Regions from separate parts of the Homo sapiens genome. Here regions 1, 2 and 4 are each linked to region 3. Evidence: promoter capture Hi-C in human tissues and cell types (Jung and others, 2019). All regions are on one chromosome and are shown on one strand. Each heading gives the region's core, a stretch centred on a gene start or on the middle of the fragment in contact. The rest is flanking DNA. Distances are from core to core; before and after follow the strand shown. Region 1 overlaps SLC12A1 (solute carrier family 12 member 1). Region 2 overlaps LOC124900354 (a long non-coding RNA gene). Region 3 holds the start of SLC24A5 (solute carrier family 24 member 5). Region 4 holds the start of SLC12A1 (solute carrier family 12 member 1).

Region 1 (5,508 bases), core at 2,897-5,396, 100 kb after region 3:
GGCAGTCACCCCAAGTTCAGCTGACAGAGTTGCTAACGGTGATGGGATACCTGGAGATGAACAAGCTGAAAATAAGGAAGATGATCAAGCTGGTGTTGTGAAGTTTGGATGGGTGAAAGGTGTGCTGGTGAGAAAGCTCTTCTGTTTACAAATGAAAACTATCCATTCAATGTTCTAGTGGATTAAGAGTGAACAAGGCCTGGGCACAGCTTTATGAAGAGCCCCGGGTTTTGTCCCACTATCGTTTGTCCTGTCTCCTTTCAATACCGCTTCTATCCACAGGTAAGATGCATGCTGAACATCTGGGGAGTCATGCTCTTCATTCGCCTCTCCTGGATTGTTGGAGAAGCTGGAATTGGTAAGCATTTTTCCCCTCCTAAATAATTTTGCATGTAAATCATAAATTCAATAAGCAATCTTTTTTCACCATTAATACTGAATGTGAGATGAAGGTCACAGAAATAATTTACAGTTGGGCTCCTTTTACTTTGCTTCTTTGACGATGTTTGTCAGAAAGCAAAGGTGAAGAGTTAACTCCTATGAAACTGGAATTTTCCAGCTTGCCAAACAGGTGAATGCTCAAGGAGATCTCTCTCTTTTGATAGAGTTTTAGGTACACAGACATATAATAGCATGTTAATTTTAGATAATAATATTTGTATTGGGGGACATATTGACATTTGCCTCTCATTTGTTACAGAGTATCCTTCTTGGCATGATTGGTAAAACTTCACTGAACAAAAATAACTTGTGAGAAAACTGGTGAAAATGTGACCTGACTAATAAAAATGCTGAATTGTTGAACTTTTTCCAAAGAAAATAATTGTGTTACTTTCGGGTACCAGCAGTAAGAAAACAAAGGTTAATCAAATATTGCCAGATACAAGCTTTAAGTGAAAGATGAAATGACTAAGATAATATGTGCATTACTGTTATTTTTTTCTAAATGAAAAATGGATAATAATGACATTATTTTGAGTGGTTGTTTAATGTTTTAAATATTACATTCTATTTTAAATATTATTTCTTCTAGCAAATCTTTTTTGTTGAAAGTATATTAGTAAAGTTTTTATGAAAAATCTAATTGAATTGTATTAAAGTTCCCCATTTAATGAGATAAAAATTAATAATGTTCTATTCCATATATGGGAAATACATTATGAATTCACTTTCCGGAGAAGACTTAGTCTCAGGAATATGGAAGTTCTATTGTGCTTTCAGATAGCACTCCAGAAGGTATCTCAATTCACATTTTAAAAGGTAGTTGGTCATTATTTATTGGCTTTGCTCTTCAAAACACATTCAGCATCACCGGAAGACTAACTCAAAAAAGAAAGGGCTAAGCTGTAAATTGAAAAAATGGAGCCAGTTCCCATAGTTTTTCCATGTTTCATGTTTGGCAACTGCTGGGTTCCTGACAGAGGGCTGCTTGCCGGTTTTATGATGCATAACAAATGAATGCTCACAGCCGCAGGGTCCAAAATAAGTATATGCCGTTCCATGGAAAATCTGCATCTTAATATTGCCAAGGTTTTGCTCCAGGGTTTCATGCAAAATTAGGTTTTTAAGGGTAGTTTTAGTAACTTATTGAGATCATCAAGAAACATTACTTTGTTTGGAGGTGTGAGAGTAGCCAAGGGCAAGAGTAATTCTTTTTAACGCAACTTATTTAACATCCATACGTTTGGGCAATAATCTGAACTTTAATCAGATCTTACATTACTCTTCACAGTCAACCCAGTATTGAGTTTCTTGCAAAACTGTAGAGAATGAAGAATCCTATCTTCTGCTAAACAGTTTATTATGCTATCATATTAAAATATTAAAATAAAATTAATATTATTTTAATAAAGATCTTTATATTGAAGTAGTTAAATTATATATTAGAAGAGAGTAAAATTCTACCTAGTAAGTGTTCAATGGATTTTCCTTTGAATGGAGGTTTGTGTTTTTCTTTTCGTTTCTTTTCTTTTTTTAATTCTCGGAAGACAGACTTTAGTGAGTACTAGAAACTTATTGTCAACCTTACTCAGTTTTACTGGCCTTTGCTATGAACCTAAAACTTAATGAGTTAAGTCACCATCTGGGTCCCATTTGGGTTTTCCTTATTGGGGAAGAAAAGAAACAAACACATCTATTTGTTCTTGCTTTGGGGGTAGATTGAGGAAGAAATCTGAATACATTTTCAAGCCCAGACCCTGGGAATAGAGCCAGAAGGAATCTGGAGCCAGGAGTAACAGTAGCTACAGCCCTTGGGTAACCATTCTGGGCTACGAGTTTTGGCTGTCTTGTTCCCAAAAGCAAAGGGCTGAATGAGCTGCTAATGCTGTCTAGTTGTTCTTCTCTATCTTGGAGACCTTGCTGGGGCAAGATGGTTTCCAATAAATTTAACCATCAAGCAAGGAAGTTAGGTGTGAAAGCCGGTATGACCTGAAGCAAGTCACTTACATTCGGTGTTTCCCTTTCTTTTCTAAATATTAAGGAGCAGGTTAATTCCTACCCAATGAATTCTTTGAAGATAAAGCTAAAGTACCTTTCTGAACAGGCAGACACAAGTTGAAATAGGCTGAGGGTAGCTTAGTTGTCTTACTGAGGGATGCATAAGAATTATCTGGGAAGTTAGGTTAGGAAACTGCAGAATCCTGGGATTTACTTTTAAAGATCCAAATTCAGTAGGTCTGAGCATTTTTAATAAGCACCCCAGGCATTTCCTGAAGCAGGTGGTTCAAGAACCACAATTTCAGAAAACAATGAACTGAATGTTCTCCAAGCTGCCTTCTACCCTGGGATTTTATGTTTGATTATGAGAGAGAAGCAAATCCCTTGCTGTTCAAAAGTATAAAACTTTGTTCCAAGATTTCAAATGGTTTGGAGAAATATATACAATGCAAAAGGATGAATTAAGAATTGTTGAAAAAACTAGAGTCAAAAGGAAAATAACAGTGAGGAAATAATAAGGTTGGAGTAGGTTTAGTGTTATGAAATGCAAATTATATGGTCCTGTAGAGTTTCTGGGGTATGCTAAACATTTTCTATCAAGCTTCTTCAAAACAAAGTCAGGAGCAAAACAAGTGCAGAATAAATCACCTTTAGTGGCACAAGGACCTGAAGCCACATAGTGATACAGAGGCACTGCTCACCACAGTATCCCTGCAATAGATATGAAGAATTTGGTCCAACTATTTTTTACAACCCCAAGCTTTTAAGAGTCTACAGGGTCTAAAGCAATATGGTCCAAGTTTGCAGCCTGTGCTTAGTTAGCTTCTTCCCACTCCACCTTAACCTGCAAAAAAGCCTAGAGGCTGCTGTTAGAGACAGGGTATGGCCAAGAGCTTCAAAAGAACCAGCCTTTAATACCTTGACTCATTCCCACTGCTGCCCTTAACCTCCTTCCACTTTCCCTTCTCCTTGAGCATGGCCAGAGAGATCACAGCCTCTCGTGGCTGACTACCCTTCTAACCATACTTGGAACGAGAGAGCCTGCCAACAACTATGGAGCATTCACTTTACATAGGGGAGCTTACCAAACAGCCCAGACCAGAGCATTCTGGATGGAGCCAGGGTGAGTTCAGTGGCTGTGACTCCACAGCCCTCTCCCTGAATTCTGGGTCGGCCTCCATTAGAGAGGGTATTGTAGGAGAGGAAAAACAGTTATCTTCTACCCATCTTAGGTTCATTGGCTGGGGGCCTATAAATTAGATTGACAAAAGTCAGATCAATAAGAGAAAAACAGAATTTATTAACATGTACATGGTACATACACATGGGACCACTCAGTGATGAGTGACTTAAAGGGTTGCTTAGAACATGGGCTTATATATCATCTTAACAACAGAACAATTAAATCGTAGAGAGGTGATAAGACAAAGGAAAAGGACTTTTCATTCATAGGGTGGCAAATGCTGCCAAGGTAAATATATAAGGAAAGGAATGGAAGATAAGAGCTTGTCAGCAAAGCTTGTTGTGTAGATGCCTGTGGTGCCTTTGTCAGGCTGATAAGCATCCAAAATTGTCTCTGGTAATCAGAGACATCACTTTCTGGTAGAGAGGGGAGGGAGGACAAATTTATGTCCCGTTTTTAGGTAAATAGGAAGGGATCGAGAGCTTTTCTTGTATCTACTTTTTTTCGGTTGTCTCAGCTCCAAATAATCCTTATGCCAGAGTGATATATTCTGATACCCTTTTGTAGACTCCTGGCTATGTGTTTCTTGAAGCTGAAAGCAGTCACGGCTTCGTTGAATTCTGGCCTCTACCACTTTCTCCCTCTCTTTATAATCATCAACCTTCTGAACCATAAAATCCTTGGGGCAGCTTTTTAAATTTCATTTTATTTGTGTCTTGTGTTTCTTACATTACCTGCCACATAGCTGGATATATAGTAGGTTTTTAAAAAGCAGTAAGTATTATAACTACTGTGAATATGATCAAAAAGCAATATCATTGAGTGTGTACTGTGTTCCATGTGCTATGCTAGCCATTTTACACATGCATTCTTTCTAATTTCATTGCTATTTTTGGCTCAGTTATTTATTTATTTGAGGTGACTTATCATAATAAGCAACTTTCCAGAATTCACACGGTCAACAAGTTAATGTAATTTAATTTCATTCTTTCCACTTTACCCATCTGCCAGATGAATAATTTGCTATACTGTATGTAGTTCTCCACCTCTATGTGACCAAATGTACATAAAAAGATAGTAACCTGGAAGGATGAACATTTAATCTCTAGTTATCTTGACAGCTTGGAATTGTAGGCCAATTATCATGTTTATAGGTGTCTATAACTTCTCCAAAGATGGAATTCTGTCAGGTGCAATAGTGCAAGCCTGTAGTCCCAGCTACTTGGGAGGCTGAGGTAGGAGGATGACTTGAGGCCAGGAGTTTGAGACCAGCCTGGAAAAAATAGCAAGACTGTCTCTAAAAATAATAATAATAATAAGATGGGGTGCACATTAAATTTTGACCAGCCCTAGTGGCTTTGTTTTGTACAACTTAGTTCTGCACATTTTAGCTCTTAAGTTTCTTGGAACCAGAGCTACTACAAGCAGAAAACTTCAAAGCTAAGCATTTACTCCATGGTGATTTCCTAGCCAACTTGTTAAACTCAAATGTGGTCCTTTGATGTTTACCCTAGACTTGCTGGTTTTTATGTAAATGATCCAATGAATTCTTCCACCATTTAATACCTTTATTTTTCCTCTTTCAACTGAGGTCTTGGTGTGATTATCATCGGCTTAGCCGTGACAGTGACTGGTATCACTGGTTTATCCACCTCTGCTATTGCCACAAATGGATGTGTCAGAGGAGGTAATTAAACTTGTGACCCGCACCATCATTTGTAAGGTAAAGGCAACACAGGCTCTAACAGTTCACCACTGACCTTTCTGGAGTGTTTTCAAAGGTAATGCAAGTTGGTTTCTTTTCCCCCATCAGGCAAAGAGATGCAAGAAAAATGGGGAAGGATTTAACCTTTGTCAAACCCCCAACTTTCTCATTCCAGTTCCTT
Region 2 (5,104 bases), core at 2,226-4,725, 69 kb before region 3:
TACAGGTACTTTTCCTGGGTTGTCACTGTTTTTACATTTGTTTATAGCATAGCAGTTTTGAACAGATGGACTTGAATCTTTTCTATGTCCTTGTTTTGTAACCTTAGGTAGATTATTTGATCTTTCTAGTCCTCAGTTCCCTCATCTATAAAATAGAAATCGTAATAGTACCTTGATCATTGGGTTAGATATCAAGTCATATCATGTCCTGATAACAGTCTCTGGTACATAATAAGCTTCAATCAATACTAGGTTTATGAATTTTAGTAGGTTTGTTGCCACTCTGACATGTTAACTTCATTTAAAGTGTTTTTTTTCTTTTATGAATTCTGACCTTTGAGGTCATGCTTAGAAAGTCCTTTTCCACCCCCATTATTACACTTTTTTCTATTATTAAATTTTCTTCTTTACATTTAAATTTTTACTCCATCTGAAATCACCTGTGGTGTAAGTTTTGAGTTAGGGAACCTATAATAACTTCATTGTTGTCACAATATCATATACTGAATAACCATTCATTCCCTACTAGATCGAGAGACAACATGCATTATGAATCAAGCTCTTACACATGCAAGGGTTCAGTTCTGGGTTTGCATTTCTGATCATTGATCAACCTGTCTATTCCTAGGCCAATACTTTACTCTTTTAATGATTGTAGATAGCTTCACAGTATATTACAATATCTAATGAGGCAAGACTTCTTATATTACTCTTCTTGGTTAAAATTGTATAATCATTCTATCAATTTATTATTTCAGATAAACTCTACAGTTGGAAATTCTGTCCAATTTCTTCCATGTGGCAGATGCTGTGATGAGCCACCGAGATCCTCCTTCAGGAAGGAAGACTTATTCCTCCAGATGCTAAGAGTGCTACTGGAGGATGGCTCTCAGCTGTGAGCCCTCAGCTGAAGACAGTTGTCTCACCTTGATCAGGCCTCCTTCCAGAAGTAGCCTGCCTTTGATGACAAACTGATTGGGCTGAGGGGAACACTATAAAGGCCAGTTCTCAGTCCCTATTTGATATGACTCTCAAGATTAAAGCTAGTGCAGTGCTCCCCATGGGGACAGGGGAAGGCTTCTTTGGGACTGGTTTGCAGATCACATTCCCCATCTGCCCAGCTCTGCTTCTCCCCCAACCCCTCCATGGTCCAGGAGCTCTCCCAAATAAATGATCTGCCGACTAACCTCAGTCCAGTTAGCTTTCTGGAAAGCCCAACCTGCAACATTTACTTATAAAAAAGTAAAATTGTTGGGTTTTGGATGAGATCCATTACATCTGATTATTAATTTGGCAGGAATCAACATTTTTACTATAATATATTGTCTTCCCACTGTATATTTTTCTATCTGTTTCATTTTTTCTTATAATCTCAAAAACAGTTTGAAGTATTCTTCACATAGGATCTGGAGTTTCTTTTTAAGACTATTCCCAAGTATTTTTCATTTGGCATTGATATTATTAGTGAGATCTAGTACTTTTTCCTCCCTATGGTGCAAAATAAATTTACAATCCCAGACTATCTTGTAGAAGAAATTACATTATTTTGTGTGGCTTCAAAGTCCAGAAGTGGGATGATGGAAACAAATTACACAAAGACACCTTTTAGTTCACTATATGCACAACATTTCCAAGAACTAGGGTGGTCCACTTACTCCATCTCTGAGGAAGACATGAAAAAGACTACCTTCAGGGATTGAGAGTCCCATGACCATGGAAGCACATAAGAAGGAATCAAATAATTATTTCAGAGATGTGATAGACTAGACTCATGTGTATACTTGGACTAGATAATCTGAATCCAAGATTCAGCAACCAGGCTGCTTGAGGAAGCCTGACTTTACATCATCCACATTTCTCCCTCTCTGTTCTACTGGACAGAGCCTTACAAACCACCCTTCCTGTTCTTCTGGCTCTGAATCATGTTTTTATCTGAGGTCTTGCTAAAGCAAGAAGAATATGTTTAAGAGTTATCTTATCACAGAAACATATCTAAGTAGAGAAGTAGGATTGATTCAAGAAATCTGTGACTACTTGAAATGTGAATTAAGCTTCATCACTAGCTATGAGGACCTGGAGTGAACTCATAAAACAAAAACCAGAGAAATATAGTCTACAGAAAACAGGAACTGAAGAATATACTCATAATTTAAAGCAGGAATTGGCAGATGGCAGCCCAAAGACCCAATCCATTTCACCACCTGTTTTTTAAATAAAGTTTTATTGGAACACAGTTACACTCATTCATTTACATGTTATCTACAGCTGCTTTTGTGTTACAGGTAGAGTGGAATAGTTGTCAGAGACGCCATATGTCCTGCAAAATGTTGCCAACTCATTGCTTGGAAGCAAAGTAACCTAAATAATCCAGTGGTTAAGACATGAACTTTAGAGTCAGACTAAGCTTTGAATTTTGATTCTATTATTTTGTCATTGTATGACCTTAAGCAATAAACATGTCATTTTCAAGCCCCAATTATCTCCTCTATTAGCTTGGTGGAACCGGTGATAACCATAGCGTTTTTGACTGCTTAAATATGGCAGTGTTTGTGTGAGGTTCCAACCCAAGCTAGGGTCTGAGGGGAGAATGTGGATTGGTGGCGGGTAGTTGAAAGAACACTCGGGAGGCCATAGGCAAGTGGGACATGGCTTTTTTATGCACCTCCTCTCACAGTGTCAGTGATACATTTATGCACTTCACAGACAATAGTGGCTCAGAACCAGGTGATGAGCCCACCCATGACATGATTACATAACTGATTATATAATGCACAGGACTGTGCACCTGCACTCCAATCCTGCTGTGTCATGTTGCACTGGATGTCTACCTTGGCCTGCTCTTGACTGCCATGCAGCCATCTTCTTTACATTCCACCCGCTAGGCCGAGGGGGTCTTCTTAGTGGGGAAATGTGCCCACAGCAACAATACAGGGAACAGCAACCTACTACTAATATTCCTGCTATGCTGCCCGTGATTATCAGGGCCCAATGTAGACCACAGCCCAGGGATGCCCACCATCTCTGTAGTGGGTCCATCAGTAAGGTTCTCAACTGCTTTAATCTCCTGTGACATCCCTTGCAAGGCTGCTGTTATGTTTTGTTGATTGTCAGGAATAAATGTACAACACTGTGTCCCTATAAGGGCTCAGGTGCCACCTTGGGCAGCCGTTACTATATCTAAGTCCATCCGGTTTTGCAGCACCACCTTTCTAGTTTGATCAGCCTAATTGGTTAACAGGAGGAGGGTGACTTGGGTGTAATTCAGGGCCTAAGCTGTGTGCCCTGTGCATTTCTACAGTAATGACACCTACTCAAGGGATAGTCAAAGCTAAGGGGTGGAGCTACCAAGGGGCCCGCCACACTCACAAAAACTGGGAACATAGTGCTTCCTAGTCATGTGGGCATCTAGGCAATGTGGGAAGCACAGTGGCAGGCACATAAGGCCACCCCCAGGTACAGCGGTCAGTGCAGTTCACTGACAAATATGGCTACCCTGTGTCTCCACAGACCCATGAACTCCAAATACTTGGATATTAAAAAGCATACTCCTAATTAATCCATGGGTCAAATAAGAAGTCTAATGAAAAATTAGATAATATTTTGAACTGAACAAAAATTAAAATACAACATATAAAAATGTGTGGGAGATAGTTAATGCAGTGCTTAGAGAGACATTCATAGCATTAAATGCTTATGTTAGAAAAGAAAAAAATTTCAAATGAAAGATCTAAACTTCTGCTTTCAAAAAGTAAAAATAGAAAAGCAAAATAAATGCAAAGCAGGCAGAAAGAAGAAAATAATAAATATATGAGAAAAAAATAAAATTGAAAAGAGAAAATAGAAAGGAAAATCAATGAAGCTAAACAAATAAAACTGATAAATCTCCAGACAGACAAAGAAAAAAGCAAGAGGGTACTAATTACCAATACAAGAATGAATGATTGTATTCATCATATTCACAAAGCTATCAAAAGAATAATAAGAAAGTACTACAAACAACTCTAAGCACACAAATTTGACAACTTACGTTAAATGGACCAATTCCTAAAAAGACACCAACTACAAAAATGTACCAAATATGATGAAGATAACCCCAAACACTCCATAACTATTTTTAAAATGAAATTAATGTTTAAAATCCTCAGAAAAGGAAATCTCCAGGTCCAGATAATTTTATTGAGGAACTCTACCAAACATTTAGAGAAGAAATAATGCAAATTCTTCACAATCTCTAATTGAAAAGGAGAAAACTATTTCCAATTCATTTTATGGCTCCAGCCAAAACCAAAGCCAAAGATACCAAATACTGAAGATAGTAAAAGAAAATTATAGACCAATCTCCCTCAAAAATATAGATGTAAAAATTCTCAACAAAACTAATTAAATATAAACCCAGCCATACATGAAGATGTAATAATAATGACCACATTGAATTTATTCTAGGAATATAAGGCTGGTTCAGTATTTGAAAGTTAGTCAATGTAATTCACCATATTAACAGACAAAGAAGTAAAACCTCATAATCACATTAATTTGATGCAGAAAAACTTTGGAAAAAATTCAGTGTACATTGATGATAAAATCTCTCAGCAAACTAGGAATAAAATTGAACTTCTTTAACCTAATGAAAGGTATGTTAGGTTAAGGGAGTTCAATTTTATTCCTAGTTTGCTGAGAGATTTTATCATCAACATATATTGAATTTTGGAGAAATAATGAACTGAGAAAGATTTGATGCTTTTCCCTGTGTTAGTCAGGGTTCTCTGGAGAAATAAAAAAACAATGGAATGTTTATAAATCCATGCTGGAGATCCAGGAAAGCCAGTGGTGTAGTCAGAAACCTGAGGGGTAAAGGATTAACTGTGCAGATTCCAGTAGACTTATGAAGGCCTGAGAACCAGGAGCACAGAGGGCAGAAGATCAATGTCCCAGCTCAAGCTGCTTAAGTCAGGCAGAGGGTGAGAAAATCCAATTTTCCTCTGCTTTTTTGTTCTTTAGGTCCTCAATAGATCGGATGAAGCCCACACATACTCTGGAAGGCCACCTGTTATACTCAGTCCACCAATTCAAATGCTAATCTCTTACAGAAACACCCACACAGACA
Region 3 (5,188 bases), core at 2,061-4,560:
TGGACTCCAAGTTCTTCAGCTTTGGGACTTGGACTGGCTTCCTTGCTCCTCAGCTTGCAGATGGCCTGTTGTGGGACCTTGCGATCATGTGAGTTAATACTACTTAATAAACTACATACATATATATATATATATATATATATGTTATAGATATAGATATATAGATATATATCCTACTAGTTCTGTCCCTCTAGAGAACCCTGAGTAATACACCACCCTTTCCCAACTCCCAAAGAATTAATGGGAGTTAATTAATGGGAGTGATGAGCATGAGTGGCTGCTGCTCACATTACAAAAGAGAGATGAGCAGACACAGTGTGCTTCCTGTAAACAAACACGCCACCACCTATAGCCTTGCCAGAGGGATAGGACTGAGTCTGATCAAGCCTCTGCATCCAGCTGCCACTTTACAAAAATGCAGAAAACAGGAACATATTGAACTATATCACAAGGACACGTCATCAAAATCAAAACTGTAGGAAACTCTACAGATCAAATGCCCTGGGCTTTTCCCAGAGACAAGTTATAAGAAACAGAAGAGAAAAAAAAGGTAGGACTATAGACTAAAAGAAAGTTAAAAGATACCTTTTTAAGGCAAAATTAAGTTATAGCATCATAAAGATGCACTGGATTACATCACGGACTATTAAAACTACACACATGAGGAAATGATTACAAGTCAGGAGAGTGGTTACTTTCAGAGAAAGGGAGGAGAGGAGACTGAGGCTCACAAAGGGGCTTCTAGGGGGGCTGGCAAACTTATTTATTTACTTATTTTTATTATACTTTAAGTTCTAGGGTACATGTGCACAACACGCAGGTTTGTTACATATGTATACATGTGCCATGTTGGTGTGCTGCACCCATTAACTCGTCATTTACATTAGGTATATCTCCTAATGCTATCCCTCCCCCCTCCCCCCACCCCACAACAGTCCCCAGTGTGTGATGTTCCCCTTCCTGTGTCCATGTGTTCTCATTGTTCAGTTCCCACCTATGAGGGAGAACATGCGGTGTTTGGTTTTTTGTCCTTGCGATAGTTTGCTGAGAATGATGGTTTCCAGCTTCATCCATGTCTCTACAAAGGACATGAACTCATCCTTTTTTATGGCTGCATAGTATTCCATGGTGTATATGTGGGTGGCTGGCAAATTTCTATTTCTTGACCTTGGATGTTTACAAGGGTGTTCATCTTATGAAAATAATAATAATATAGTAAACTATTCATGTATGTAGTTTTATCTGGGTGTTATTTTACAAGAAAAAGATCTTTAAGATGCTTTTGCAAAATGAAGAATGTGTGTGAAGCAAATCTAATTCATCTCCTAAAATCTCTTTTCGTGGTAAATCCATATTTAGATGGTAATTTGTTTAGACCAAGCATATGCATGTTCTGGCAATGTGTTTTCAAGACCATTCATTGCAAAGTAATCGATCTGCAAATGTTGATGGAGTACTAACTATGTGCAAGGCACTTCTGCTGTTCCATAGCAATTGGCTCGTACCTTCAGACACTTGCTCTCTCTCTTGAATTAGCTGACAATGTGCATTGGAAGCTTTCACTTTGGGTTTGAGCTTTTTATATTATTGGTATTTTATTTGTTTATGATGTTTTATGAATTGATTGAAGTACTGTGTGTTGAAGAGGAGAGGCTCGCAAGACACTTCCACTCAGCATAAAACTAAACGACCTCTTCCCTTAGTCTTAGCTAGCTGGCATGTAGGCCACTCCCCAGTGATCAGGGTGCTGCTTCCTGCGAGTGTAGACAGCTGGAACTCTGCTTGTTGAGAATCTGCTCTATACTGGGCTATGCTTTGGTGACTCATCATCACAGCCTCACAATCACACCATACATCTGAATATCTAGTTCCTAGAAATGACAGTTTTGGAGAGGTTTATAATGGATACCAATTCCCACAAAAAAAAGTAGTTTTTGAGACTTTCTTCCGACCCAAGATCACAAACATCAGGAAGCAACTTACTCCGTTCCATCAGATAAAGCTAGTTTCTAAATAGAAAACTTACTAGGCATATCAATTTTTGTGTTTTTTCTGCAAAGCAAAGGAACCATGAAAGTTGCAAAACTACAAAAATTTTTATGAACAAAAACGCTTCTATTTCAATTGAAAGAAAGAAAGAGAAAGAAAAAGAAAGAAAGAAAGAAAGAAAGAAAGAAAGAAAGAAAGAAAAAGAAAAGAAAAGAAAGGAAGAAAGAAAGAAGGAACGAAGGAAAGGAAGGAAGGAGGGAAGGAAGGAAGGAGAGAAAGAGGAGGAGGAGAAGAAAGGAAGGAAGGAAGGAAGGAAGGAAGGGAGGAAGGAAGGAAAACAAACAAAACAAAGAAAAAGAAAGGAAGGAATGAAGACGTCAGCCAGAGGTCGTTCTGAGCAAATTATTTGCGTTCATTTTTGTAATTCTTACCACAACCCAAATACAGGTGATCCCTGTTTTACAGATAGCAGAACTGTGTAGCAGAAAGGTTAAATAACATGCCAAAAGTCACATAACTAGTAAGTAGCAGTGCTAGGGCTCAAATCATGTGGTCTGGTTCCATAGCCTGTGCTATTAGCTATAGGTTACTACACTGCCAAAAGTTCTAAATATCTTGGCAAGCCTCATAAATGTTAGCATAGGGAAGATAGTAGTCTATATTTAAACACTACCTTGTACGTCAAATTTGCATTTTAGATAGCTCCCTCTGGCAGAAAGCACAGCCTATCAATGATCAAATAGCATCCACTCCATCTCAATAATTCTTGAAACTGTCAGCTACTCTCCATCCCCGTTGCCACAGCCTTGGTTCAAGCCACTATCATTTCTCAGCTAGACGATTGCAATGATGCCCTAACTGGCCTTTCTCCCTTTGGCCCTAACTGAAGATGAAGATGAGAGGCTAAAACAGAAATATGAAAGGATGCCGAGCTAGCCAAAGCATGTACATATATTAATATCAACCCAAACAACTTCTAGGGGAAAGGGCTGGAGAGAGATGGGAAGCAGTTGCAAACCCAACTTTTTACAAATCTAGAGAAAGTCAAAAGCAGAGCCAGTATGAAGACATTAAATAAAACCACACATTTTCATAAAGTACAAGCTGCCTTAATCTGCCCTTAGAGACTGTAGGCCATGGAAATAGCTATAGACAATGGTTGTCAGCTCTCCTCCGTCTCCTCCGGCCTCCCTGGAGATTGGGTCTCCTGATCAGAGAAGCTTGACTGGCTACACTCGCCCTTTCTCCTGTGCTGGCCTTGCTGAGATGTGCCCTGGGCAGGGTATTGGGCAGGAAGGAGACTCCTCACATGATCCAGTTTAATCCTCCTCTTCTCCCTTCCTGAAGCTGCACGCTGCAGTAAGAGCACAGCAGAAATGCAGACAAAAGGGGGCCAAACATGGGCGAGAAGGGCTCTGTTGCTCGGCATCCTGTGGGCCACTGCACATCTGCCTCTCTCAGGGACCTCCCTGCCCCAACGTCTCCCAAGGGCCACAGGTAGGTGGACATTGGGGTCAGTTAGCTCTGCAGCAGCAGCTGCTGCTGCTGCTACCACATACAGATGAAGGGACAAAAAGAGGAAAATTCTCAATGGGCTCACTTTTACTTACGCTTCTGAATTTTAGCATTTAAAAAGATATCAAACACTTTTGATCCTTCAAATAAGTTCTTAAATATACTCCAAAGTAATTCACAGAGATCATAGTAGGCCAAGTCTCCAGTTTTTGTTCTTGGAGACTTTTTGGTGAAAACAAAAAATCTTTCATCTTAGAAATTCTCTCTGCAACAGTGGATGGATTCTTTGCAGGCCTGTGAACAATTTAGGCTCTGCAATGAGAAAACGAAATTGTATAAACAATAGAAATCTTCATGTATCAGAGATACAGTTTCTACTTGGGGAAGAGAGATTCAGAAATAAAAACAAGGAGGAGTGATTTCATGATTTCCTCTTTTTAATTCTTCACCATCATCAACATATTTCATTAAGATATCTCTTTTCAGTCCCCCAAAAAAATTTTTTGAAAACTCTACAACTGTGTTATATTCAGAAGCGCTTTATACATTTTCAGTGGGTCCTTAAAATTCCACCCGGTTACCCCACACTTACAGATTTCTTAAGGAAGCTCTCTGTGGGCTTGGAATGTGTGACTCCAAACTCTTCAAACTTTCACCTCCTTTTCCTTAACAGGAAATAGCACCCAATGTGTTATTTCTCCATCATCGGAGTTTCCCGAAGGGTTTTTCACGAGACAGGAGCGCAGAGATGGAGGCATCATAATCTATTTCCTAATTATCGTTTACATGTTCATGGCCATATCTATTGTCTGTGATGAATACTTCCTACCCTCCCTGGAAATCATCAGTGAATGTAAGTGGCTGGAAAGTTGCCCTGTAACCTTCTGGGAGAGTGTGCCACACAGATATGACTGTCTTTGAAATAGCTCAGCAGCTGTCCTGTACTTCTCAACTGGTTGCAGAGCACCAGCTTCTTGTTGTGGGGTCCCGTGTCTTAAGGAACTGGTCGAGTGTGGTTTCTCTTGGTAGTTAATGTGAATCAGAGTTTCTTCAAGTTAGAACCCGGCAGTTATTATTTTTCTGCCTATTTCCAGAAATCTCTAGTTTGTCTACTGCCTGGATGTTTGTTATAAGAACTGTTCCAAGATTTCACTTGTATGTACTTTGTGTGCGCTCCTAATACAATGAAACTCCTAATATTTGCCATTTTATGCTTCAAAAAACTTTTTTTTATTTTTACTCTAAGCTCGCTATAACTTTGATTATAAAAAGTGATAAACAAATGCAATTAAGGACCACCCTCCCCATCTTCCTTTCCCAGCATCCTACCATTAAGGAAATTAATTGATATTTAAGAACCAATAAACAGATAGATGAATAAGTCCTGTATCCTAAGTGACCTTAGACATCAGATGACTGTAAAATCAGTTATTAAAAATTAAGAGCTCCATTTATTGGTTTCTGAAAATAAGATCAGCCGGTCCAAGCCTCTGAGCTCTGTTCCTTCAGCAGTATATGTTGCCCAGAATTCTGAGCATAGACCTTCACTGGTGCACTGGTCCCTAAACACCAGGATAGCAGTTATGTTCTGTGCCATATGAGCAAAAGTGTGTTTCTAGACTTGGTCTCATGTTTGGTTATTTATTTGGCTGAGCATGCCCACATTACAGCAAAAAGCAATGTC
Region 4 (4,974 bases), core at 1,502-4,001, 88 kb after region 3:
TTTGATACACATGCTAAACAATAGGAGGTCACTAGGACTCATCTGTAAGACGGTGGAACTCAATTTATCTATTCCCAAATGACTAATGGCAATGCTCATATTTTTTGGACAATTGCTGTTAAGGGATCCAATTCTCCTTATGAATTAAAGAAACTCTATGTTACTTCCTGTCTAAAAGGATTAATGGTTTACTACTAGTTACCAGTTGATGTGGTACTTAAGTTTCCTCAGGGCTAATGACCTGGTGGGGCTTACAGTACTATTCCAGGCCAATCATTGCACAGTCATCTCTTTCAAGAAAGTTTCTAACCAATAAGCAGAAGCCTAACTTTCTGGCTGAAAGCTAAGTGTCCCATATATTCCTGGGTGACGCTGAAGCAGGTTACATTTCCTCAGAAGAAGGCTCCTTGGTGGTAAGTTGAACATTTCTGGGCAGGGTAAAAATCATACTTAATATTATGTCATAAAGTAGATTCTGAGGAGTAGGTGAGGGTGTCAAGGACTATGAAGAGAAGTGTTTTGTAAAAACTAAAACGATAATAGCTTCATTTATAATTTCCCCAGGAAAGGTTACTTGAGAAATGAAGTTGAGGGTTTTTTTAATTCAAATACACAGCTTTAATAACTGCATGAGAGAGACAAGTTTTTATTTATATTTATCTCATTTTTCTAGAACTTCCCTTGAAAAGCCAAATTTTAAGGTATCAATAAGGAAATATAATTCTAAAGCAAGTGTTTTAAGACAGGCCAGTACTATGAAATTGCGAAAATTATTGTGAAGTCTATTCACCTCACAGTCAAATATAAACCTCTCAATTATTGAAGACATTTCATTAAAATGAGTCAGTAGAGCATGATTATTTTACCTAAACATAGCAGAGGACTTTTTTAAGGTATATGACTTATTTCTTATAGATATATGACTTATTTCTATATTCATATTTTTTTAAGGTTTCATGTTAGTATTTGCAAAACAAACAAATGTATGAGCAAATGAAACATTTGGATCTTGTAAAAGATCTAAGAATTCACAGAGACATCATCTTGATGGGATGTATTTTTTAAATGCATATTCTAAAACATAATTTTTTACTTGTTGCATAGGTAACAAAATTTGGAATTTATAAGTTGAACATGTACAGATTTTTATAAACTAGCAAGAATATATTTTTTAGAAGTTTTGTTTTTCATTTTATATGTTGTATAGTATATATTCCTAACAATCAAAATACTTTGCAGTTTCAGCATTTAGTACTGTCAGTGAACTGTGTCTTAGGCTGAGAATATTCTCATCAGCTCTTACTGTATTCAATAAGTAAAGTTACATCTTTTCTAAAGTCACAGTGAACTCCAGTGCACTGAATTCAAGCAAATACTACAAACACAGGTAACATTTTAATGACTGCATTGGAAGTTCTGTTTGCTGGAACAGTTTTCCAGTTATTTATTATCAGATTTAATTACTCACATGACTAAGGTTCCTGGACAGATAAATTTTAGTGAAATGAGTTTAAAATTGTATGTCTTGTAAAATAAAACTGTTCCCTTATATCCCACCCTTACCTAAATATATTTGTATTACTTGGAACAAGTTTAATTTTCTTTTTCAATGACAGCTTTGAAGAACATCCTGAAGATTATATCGGAGACAATATATCAAGAATCTATTTATTGAATCATCTAGAACAAAAGCCAGGAGCTCCCTAATGGAAGCACATTAGTGTTTATTTTGATGAAGAAATATATAGATTTTTTAAAACAACCACAAAGTAGATAGCTCAGTAAAAAATCAATTTTGGAAGATGTCACTGAACAACTCTTCCAATGTATTTCTGGATTCAGTGCCCAGTAATACCAATCGCTTTCAAGTTAGTGTCATAAATGAGAACCATGAGAGCAGTGCAGCTGCAGATGACAATACTGACCCACCACATTATGAAGAAACCTCTTTTGGGGATGAAGCTCAGAAAAGACTCAGAATCAGCTTTAGGCCTGGGAATCAGGAGTGCTATGACAATTTCCTCCAAAGTGGAGAAACTGCTAAAACAGATGCCAGTTTTCACGCTTATGATTCTCACACAAACACATACTATCTACAAACTTTTGGCCACAACACCATGGATGCCGTTCCCAAGATAGAGTACTATCGTAACACCGGCAGCATCAGTGGGCCCAAGGTCAACCGACCCAGCCTGCTTGAGATTCACGAGCAACTCGCAAAGGTAAGCTTGAAGGACACAAGCAAGTCTCCTCCCTTATTCATAACTTCAGATAATTTCCTTCTCTTTCATTACACTATGAATGAATGTGAAACAGTCAAATGGAGAGGTCTATTCCAAACACTATCCATCTTACTTACAAAACTGTCCCTAGTTCCCAGAAAAGTGTTTCACAGATGCTTTTTCTTTGGATTTTTTTTTTTCTTGAGACAAAGTCTTGCTCTGTCACCCAGCCTGAAGTGTGGTGGACACTGCAGCTTTGAACTCCTGGGCTCAAACAATCCTCCCACCTCAACCTCCTGAGTAGCTGGGACTGCAGGCATGCACCACCACACCTGACTAACTTTTTTATTTTTTGTAGAGACAGGGTCTTGCTATGTTGCTCAAGCTGGTCTCGAACTCCTGACTTAAAGGGATCCTCCCACCTTGGCCTCCCAAAGAGATGGGATTGCAGGCATGAGCCACTGTGCCCAGCTCCACAAATGTTTTCTGACTTAGGATAGAGAACTAAAGAATTAACTCTAAATGTTAGGCAATATGTTGTACCTTGTATATGATTATAGTCCACTCAATTCACACTTGGTTAAACACGTCAAACTGAATACCAAGCTGGTTTCACGTCAGTATTAATGTCTCTATGTCAATCGTATAAAAAGCAAAACACTTGTGCTTGCTGTAGTTAATACTGTGGGTGACAGCCTTTAGTGTGTAGGGGTATTTTTTATATTCTTTAAAGAAAGGGCAGAGATTTATAAGATTCAGCATTTTATCCCTTCCTCTTTAAAACTTTGCCTGAGGCTCCTGAATGTGCTTAAGCATATAAAAATAACTAAATTAAAGTACAGAAGCAGCAGAAGTGACTAAACTTTTCATTATTTAAGAAATACAGCCAGGGTTCCCAAGTCTGTTAGAAGTGAGGCAGCACTTTTCCCAATCTTTTTTGAGACGAAGTATCGCTCTTGTTGCCCGGGCTGGAGTGCAATGGTGCGATCTCGGCTCACCGCAACCTCCACCTCCTGGGTTCAAGCGATTCTTCTGCCTCAGCCCCCTGAGTAGCTGGGATTACAGGCATGTGCCACCACCACACTCAGCTAATTTTTTTGTATTTTTAGTAAAGATGGGGTTTCTCCATGTTGGTCAGGCTGGTCTTGAACTCCCAACCTCAGGTGATCTGCCCACCTCAGCCTCCCAAAGTGCTGGGATTACAGGTGTGAGCCACCATGCCCGGCCTCCAATCTTAGAACTTAGTAGATTTCTTCTTCCATAACTTTCTCCAAAATATACTGATCACCTTTATCTTCCTGCTCTTCCAGACCAGTTTGGAATAAATATCATTCTTTATAAAACACAATTACCTGCTAAAAAGAATGATTAGATGTCACATATTCAAATGAGTTTACTCTTGCCCAAGTTTTGAGGAGAAGAAAATGATTCAAACAGTTCCTTTTGTATGCATTCATCCATTCGTTCCTTCAATATTTTTTTAAATGATCATCCACACCCGAGAGTCTAGGAATACTACTCTCAGGAAAGATGCTAATAAAGGGGAAAATCTTTCTTTAGTTTCTGCTCACCTTTCCTTCCACAAGAAAATCCATCTCCAAATCGTATTTGCCTTGGCTGCTAGGGTCCCTGACTCTGGGTCCTACCACCAGAGACCAAGTGACTTCCTGAGGAGGAGCCCATGTTTTTAATTTTGTTTCCTTGTCCCCTTTCCCCACCAAAACTTGCTAGTCCTGTGTACTAAATCGGCAACAGTCTGCCAAATGGCTGGTTTCCTTATAGACCTAAGATTTAGATTTTATCTGGCATATTTGATGCTTTAATCAAAAGAAGTTAGCAATGCGACAATTTCAGACAACATGGTAGCCCCCATGAAGAATTTTGAGAAGGGAGGCAATTTGAACTGTTGAAATCCAGCTGCGGTGTCACTGTCCTTTTCTGTGTCAAGAAAGGAAAGGAAAATGGCAGAGAGAAAAAGGAGAAGAGAAAGGAAAAGAAGGTTGACAGAAGCAGCCCCCAGGAGTTTCCAAGACATGGAAAGGGCAGAAACAAATTTAGGGCATTATAAAAAGATATTTCAATTGTTTCTGAAGAATTAAAATGAATCAAAGTTCTTTTTTAAAAAGACCTGAAATTCTATCCCACAATACTCTACCACGTCACACATGATAATTTTTAAATCTGCCTCCTTTTTTAAAGTTAGTGTCACAATTTAAATATTATCATTCACCTACTTCCCCAATTTACAACAAAAGAAAATAGAATTCTAACTTCATTAAAAAAGAAATGGGATAAATTCACATTGTTCTTAGGACTGACATTCCCGACAGAGAAAAGTAGCTTATTTATAATTGCAAAAGCCATGGCTTATGTAAATCTTTCAATAAAGGGAGAAAAGCTCTGAAGGAACAGGTGTTTAGAAAGCCATCTAAAGCCTGGGTGTGGTGGCTCATGCCTGTAATCCTAGCACTTTGGGAGGCTGAGGCTGGTGGATCACCTGAGGTCAAAAATTCAAGACCAGCCATGACCAACTGGTGAAATCTCTTCTCTACTTAAAAAAAAAAAAAAAAAAAAAATTAGCCAGGCATGGTGGCACATGCTTGTAATCCTGGCCCTGGGAGACTGAGGCAGGAGAATTGCTTGAACCTGAGAGGCAGAGGTTGCGGTGAGCTGAGATAGTGCCACTGCACTCCAGTCTGGGCAACAGGAGTGAAACTCCATCTCAAAAAAAAAAAGAAACAGAAAGCCATCT

The links. The method cuts DNA at HindIII sites, captures the fragments that hold promoters and counts their contacts. A contact is called where the count stands out against the background at its distance.
Region 1: a contact is called between a fragment that was not itself captured here and the fragment with the promoter of SLC24A5 in region 3, in 2 of the 25 tissues and cell types used here (heart right ventricle and mesendoderm cells).
Region 2: a fragment that was not itself captured here is called in contact with the fragment with the promoter of SLC24A5 in region 3 in 2 of the 25 tissues and cell types used here (pancreas and small bowel).
Region 4: a fragment that was not itself captured here is called in contact with the fragment with the promoter of SLC24A5 in region 3 in 2 of the 25 tissues and cell types used here (mesenchymal stem cells and thymus).

What each region holds. Positions count from the first base shown.
Region 1 is chr15:48,220,639-48,226,146 of GRCh38, forward strand. SLC12A1 (solute carrier family 12 member 1) reads left to right here. Exons shown (of 27, transcript NM_000338.3): 3 at 1-127; 4 at 283-358. Among named protein-coding and RNA genes, the nearest start is that of SLC12A1, 17 kb to the left of the region's middle. The HindIII fragment of the contact is 4,366 bases long and covers 1,964-5,508 here.
Region 2 is chr15:48,048,032-48,053,135 of GRCh38, forward strand. LOC124900354 (a long non-coding RNA gene) reads left to right here. Exons shown (of 3, transcript XR_001751516.3): 3 at 759-1,517. Among named protein-coding and RNA genes, the nearest start is that of SLC24A5, 70 kb to the right of the region's middle. The HindIII fragment of the contact is 4,664 bases long and covers 1,144-5,104 here.
Region 3 is chr15:48,117,680-48,122,867 of GRCh38, forward strand. It overlaps SLC24A5 (solute carrier family 24 member 5), which reads left to right and starts at 3,311. Exons shown (of 9, transcript NM_205850.3): 1 at 3,311-3,486; 2 at 4,178-4,357. The coding sequence starts at 3,366. The HindIII fragment of the contact is 7,987 bases long and covers 2,383-5,188 here.
Region 4 is chr15:48,205,918-48,210,891 of GRCh38, forward strand. SLC12A1 (solute carrier family 12 member 1) reads left to right here and starts at 385. Exons shown (of 27, transcript NM_000338.3): 1 at 385-413; 2 at 1,617-2,222. The coding sequence starts at 1,803. The HindIII fragment of the contact is 5,507 bases long and covers 1-4,974 here.